Linked DNA regions of Homo sapiens: region 1 is linked to region 2. Evidence: promoter capture Hi-C in human tissues and cell types (Jung and others, 2019). All regions are on one chromosome and are shown on one strand. Each heading gives the region's core, a stretch centred on a gene start or on the middle of the fragment in contact. The rest is flanking DNA. Distances are from core to core; before and after follow the strand shown. Region 1 overlaps PTK2 (protein tyrosine kinase 2). Region 2 holds the start of SLC45A4 (solute carrier family 45 member 4).

Region 1 (2,712 bases), core at 153-2,652, 320 kb after region 2:
TCATGCTTGGTAGTTCCTGGGCACATTTCAAGGAACTCGGGGGATGTTGAGTGGAGTCATTCCCTTATTGTCTATTACTCTAGGAGGAGGAAGGGTTCAGATAAGTCAGTAAGTTGAGCTGTGGTTTAGGCTCTGTACAAGAGGGGCGGTAAAGATGAAGGAGTGGGACTGAGGATGGGTGTGGAGGAAAGGTTAGGGCCACTTTTCATCGCCACCTGGGGTAGCTTGCCAGCACATGTTTACCTTTGGTTTGGGATCACAGCAAGCAGAAGAGATGAAAGCTCCCTTTAACCGTTCTAGGATATGTATTTGAATTGGAGAAACTACCTCAAAATAGAGTGTGTGCAGGCACTATATGAAGGCTTCTCAGCGTTTAAGTGCATACATGCCACCCAGGGATCTCGTTATATTTTAAGTTCCAATTCAGTCTGTCTGGGAAGGGCTCAGACTTGCATTTTTCCTAAGTTCCCAGGTGATGCCAGGGCTGGTGGTCTGTGGACCATACTTGGAGTAGCTAGGCATTGGTTTTCAAAGTGTGGGTTGCAAGGTGGCACTGAGTCTTAGTTTGAAAGTTGAATAACCACTGTTGATTGCGGTAGTTAAGGGCATGGAGTTGGGGTCAGAATCCTGGCTCTATGATCTTGGGCTTGTTTGTTAAGTTTTCTAATCTCTATTTCCTTGTGTGGCATGTGATTGTACTACATGATTATGTAATGCTTAGTCTTTTTTTTTTGTTTTTTTTTGAGACAGAGTCTTGCTGTGTCACCCAGGCTGCCAGGCTGGAGTGGAGTGGCATGATCTCGGCTGACTGCAACCTCTGCCTCCCAGGTTCAAGCAATTGCCCTGCCTCAGCCTCCCGAATAGCTGGGATTACAGGCACATGCCACCACACCCGGCTGATATTTGTATTTTTAGTAGAGACGGGGTTTTACCGTCTTGGCCAGGCTGGTCTTGAACTCCTGACTTCAGGTGATCCACCCACCTTGGCCTCCCAAAGTGTTGGGATTACAGGCCTGAGCCACCGTGCCCGGCAGTGCTTGGTCTTATTAAACGCTTTATGAAAGGTAACAGTTATTAAAAGTAAATGTTTACATTAAAAGTTTGCCAGTTTTCAAAGTGCTGAGTCTTCCCTGCATCTTTGCTCAGTTTGTAAAATTGCACCTCCCTCCCTCCCTCCCTTCTTCTCTCCCTCCCTCCTTCCCTCCTTCCTCCTTTCCTTCCTTCCTTCTTCCTTCCTTCCTTCCTTCACTTCCCTCTCTCTAGGACAGTGATGAACCAGCCTTCTTGTACTGGAGGAATACACCATCCGTCTTCATAAAGACTGGCAGGCACATGGACAAGTTTACCAGTTATAATGCTTTTCTTACACATTAAAGAAGTAGGTGTTTGTATTGGGGCTTCAACAAGGACTTGGAAAACTTTAAGATAATACAACTACATAGTATTCCTTTAGGTGAATATCGTTTCAGTTTCTCAGATCATTGATGAAAGCCTTAACAAAGATTTTTTTTTTTTTTTTTTTTTTGAGATGGAGTCTTACTCTGTTGCCCAGGCTGAAGTGCATGATCTTGGCTCACTGCAACCTTCACCTCCTGGGTTCAAGCAATTCTCCTGCCTCAGCCTTCCGAGTAGCTGGGATTACAGGCACCTGTCACCATGTGTGGCTAATTTTTGCATTTTTAGTAGAGACAGGGTTTTGCTCTGTTGGCCAGGCTGGTCTCAAACTCCTGACCTCAGAAGATCCGCCTGCCTTGGCCTCCCAAAGTGCTGGGATTGCAGGTGTGAGCCACCACACCCGGCCTAGATTTTAAAATAAGCATCTGTTTGTTTCTTTTTTTAGTTGCCACTAGTAAGGATGATGGAAAACTATATTTTGTACTAAGGATTTTGAAAGATAGAATTCTTTCAAGTGAGAATTCTGTGACTTTTCTGTTAAATGCGTATTTAATAACTAAAAATACAAAGCTTCAATGTGAAAACCTTGTAGAAGTTTTCAAACATATACAGAAACAATGTTGTAATGAATTCCCTGTTTATTCATTACCACTTTCAGCCATGGTTATTATTTAATAAGTATTGTTAACTCTTTAAAGGTACTGGTTCATACTTAAAAGTTGTGAAGTAACTTGCTTCTGAAAACGTACGCTAACATTGGACAACTCCTGCTAAAATGTGACATAATTCATGATGCATTTCTTTAAAAAAGATAGGGAAGGAATTGAATATAGCTCTGCTGCTTTTCTAAGGTTCTTCTGTGAGTGGGTGATGCAGCTGACTGTCCTGTGTCTTTCTTTCTTTCTTTTTTTTTGGAGATTGAGTCTTGCTCAGTTGCCCAGGCTGGAGTACAGTGGTGCTATCTCGGCTCACTGCAACCTCCGCCTCCCGGGTTCAAGCGATTCTCCTGCCTCAGTCTCCTGAGTAGCTGGGATTACAGGCACCCGCCACCATGTCTGGCTAATTTCTGTATTTTTAGTAGAGATGGGGTTTCACCATGTTGGTCAGGCTGGTCTCGAACTCCTGACCTTGTGATCTGCCCGCCTCAGCCTCCCAAAGTGTTGGGATTACAGGCGGGAGCCTCCGCACCCAGCCCCCGTATCTATCTTAATGATGCAGTGTGTATCTATCTTAATGATCCAATGTGTATCTTAATGATCCAGTGAGCTAAGCAAGGCGGTGGGGACTCTCCACAGACTTGGAGCCTTTAGTTGGAAG
Region 2 (2,889 bases), core at 225-2,724:
CTCTGGCTTCTTTTCCTCAACATCATTTGTGAGAGTCATCCATGTTGTTGTGTGTAGTTGATTATTCACTGTCATTGCTGTCATTCCACTGTGTGAATATATCACAATTTATGTATCCATTTAACGGCTGATGAGCATTTCAGTAGTTTCCAGTTTGGGGCAATTATAAACACTGCTGCTATCAACAGAAACACAATGTTAGGTGTGTATCTAGGAGCAGAATTGCTGGGTAATCAAGGCCTTTCAAAAAGATTTTGAAAGTTGTACCACTTTGCATGTCCACCAACAGTGTCTGGCAGTTCCAGTTGCTCCATTTCCTTGTCAACACTTGATATGGTCAGATTTTCCCATTTCCGATGCTCTTGGAGGCTCTGCTCTGCACTTCACTTCTAAATTCCTTTAGCAACAGGTGAGATGGATCTTACGATTTCTATTTTACAGATGAGGACGCCAAGGTTCTGAGAAATGAAGTAATTCCTCCAAAGCAACTTAAACCCTGGCAAGGGTGCAGGGCTGCGACGTTAACAGGGTTGGCCTCAGCCCATCACATCTGTCTGTTAAAGCCGCCTCCCCAGACCTTGTCTTGATGGGGTTTCCCAGCAGTCCTGCCCTAGGGATTGTGGCCCTTCTACACGTGGGGAGAGACGGATCAGTGTCCCTGGCCAGGGCCAAGCCTGAGAGGGAGGCCCAGCCTCCAGGAAGCTCCGGGTCGGGTCTTCGTCCTGCCCCGCTCTCCAGGTTGGAGAGGGGACCCGCAGAGCGCGGGGCGTTGGGGGAGTTGGGGACGGGGGCGTGGTCCGGGACCAGGTAGGAGGTCTTCGGAGGGTGGCAGGGAGGGGAAAACAGGAGAGTTTTCTCCTGCAGCGGAGGAGGGGCTGCAGCACCTGGATGGGGCCCATGTCGCCGCGCCACGGGCAGGGGCGGAGGGGGCGGGAGGGTGCTTGCCAAGGGGCTGGGCTGCCGGGGGCCGGGGCCTCGTGGCTAGCCGGACCCCTCTGCGACAGAGTGGCGAGAGGAGCGGGGAGAGAAGGTGGGGACAGGCGGGGGCCACCTCCTGCGGCTGCAGAGAGGGATGGGGTGGATTGCGGGCCAGCGCTTTAGGGGAGAGAGGGCGGACGCTCGGTGCGGAGGGGCCGGGGCCGGGGCCGGGGCCGGGGGCGTAGCGGGAGGAGGGCGGGGGCGGGGCTGGATTATGGCTGGGGGCGGGGCCATGGCGAGACGGGGGCGGGAGCCACGGTGCGCGCGGGGGCGGGGCAGGGGCGCGGCGGGGGCGGGGCGGCCGTTCGGGGGCGGGGTGGGCGGCAGCGGAGGCCAATGAGCGCGCGCGGCGCAGACCCCGCCCCCCGAATCCCCGTCCCGCGGCGGCGGGTGCTGCATAGTCATGAGGCGCAGGGGCCGGCGCTGCGTCAGCGGAAGCGGCGCGGAGCGGCTGTTTCCGACCCGATAAAGCGGCGTTGTCTCCGCGCGCCGGCCGCAGCCTCGCAGCGCTCTCTCCGCGCCCGCGTCGCTGACTGACCGCCCGGCCGGCCGGCCGAGGGAGCAGCCCCCGCCCGGACCCGCAGCCGCCTCCCGACCCCGGTGCGCCCGGGGCTCCGCGCCCCCGTAGCCCCTGCCCGGCCCGGCCCGGCCGCCCCGCCGCCCCCGCGGCCCCGGCCGGAGGAGACAGGTGAGTGGCCTGCCGCCCGCAGCCGCCTGCCCCGCCGCCCCCTGCACCTCGCACCTGGGCGCCGGGCACCTGCAGCCTCCCCACCCCCACCTCCCGCACAGCCTCGGCCTCCAGGTCGGGTCCGCGCCGCAGCCCCAGCCCCGCACCTTCTCCGGGGGAGGGGACGTGCCCCCACCCGGCTTGCGCTGGCTCCTCAGGGCCCCCCAATTCCTTCCCGCCTCCTCTTTCCGGATTGCACCTGCCCTGGTCCCCAGCCCTGCAGCCTCCCTCATTCCCCCCACCCCGGCCCCCACCCCGGGGCGCGCGCCTTCATTTGGACCCGGCCCGCTTTCGCACCCATCAGTCCTCCCCGCCCCCAGTTCCTCGGTTTCTCTACCCAGAGAGGAGCCTGGCGCCTCTAACTCCTGGTCCTGACCCTGTCTTGTCCTTCTAACCCCTGCCTGCTATCTCTAACTTATGAGAATTCAACCAGCGATACACCACTCGCGAAGTGGCCCCCTCTCCCCTCTGTCTGGACCGGTCCTCCCAACCGAACACACTCCCTTCTTCCCCTTCTTCCCCTTCCCTTCTTCCCCTCCTTTCCCTCTGCCCAGTGCACACACGACCCTGGCAGCACTGCTAGCCAGTGTCCCCCGCCTCGGACCCCCAGCCTGCACCGCCAGACTGTGGCTCTGCCCCGGTCTCATCGGCACTGCGCTCCCTTGTGTCCCTTTGAAGATACCTTGATTTCCTGAGACCGACCTTGTCCCTGGAGGAAAGAGGCCAGGGCATCAGTTCATCCGGGCCCAGATTCCCTGCTCTGTAGAAGTCCCCGCACCTTCTGCGTCTCAGCACCCGCTGCCCCTTTCCCCTTTGCGCTTAACCCGTTCCTCCCCCAGGTATCCTGCTCTGGATTGGAGCACTTCCAGCAGCGGCTTTTCCAGCGGAGGCGGATCCACACGGGGCCCAGCCTCCTGGTTAGCTATTCAGAATGATTCTAGAAGGCGGGGGCTAGGGAGGGCTGGGAAGGGCCGCTTGACCTCCTAAGGAGCCTGAGGTGTTTGTGTCTCTCCAGTGCGGGTCACTGATGGAGTGTGGCTTCAGGTTCACAGACCTAGCCACTGACCCCCATCTGATACCTCAGCTGACTCCAGCAAAACAGGGCTTGTCGTTTTTATTACTGTTTTGGGGGCTGTCTTTTCCAGTCTATGACCCGGAGCGAGGAGGGTTTACCAGATGAGTGA

The links. The method cuts DNA at HindIII sites, captures the fragments that hold promoters and counts their contacts. A contact is called where the count stands out against the background at its distance.
Region 1: a fragment that was not itself captured here is called in contact with the fragment with the promoter of SLC45A4 in region 2 in 2 of the 25 tissues and cell types used here (IMR-90 fibroblasts and aorta).

The regions. Positions count from the first base shown.
Region 1 is chr8:140,982,194-140,984,905 of GRCh38, reverse strand. All of the region lies in intron 1 of PTK2 (protein tyrosine kinase 2), which reads left to right. Among named protein-coding and RNA genes, the nearest start is that of PTK2, 18 kb to the left of the region's middle. The HindIII fragment of the contact is 8,425 bases long and covers 1-2,712 here.
Region 2 is chr8:141,306,873-141,309,761 of GRCh38, reverse strand. It overlaps SLC45A4 (solute carrier family 45 member 4), which reads left to right and starts at 1,474. Exons shown (of 9, transcript NM_001286646.2): 1 at 1,474-1,666. RefSeq lists silencers at 1,239-1,478, 1,499-1,598. The HindIII fragment of the contact is 10,784 bases long and covers 1-2,889 here.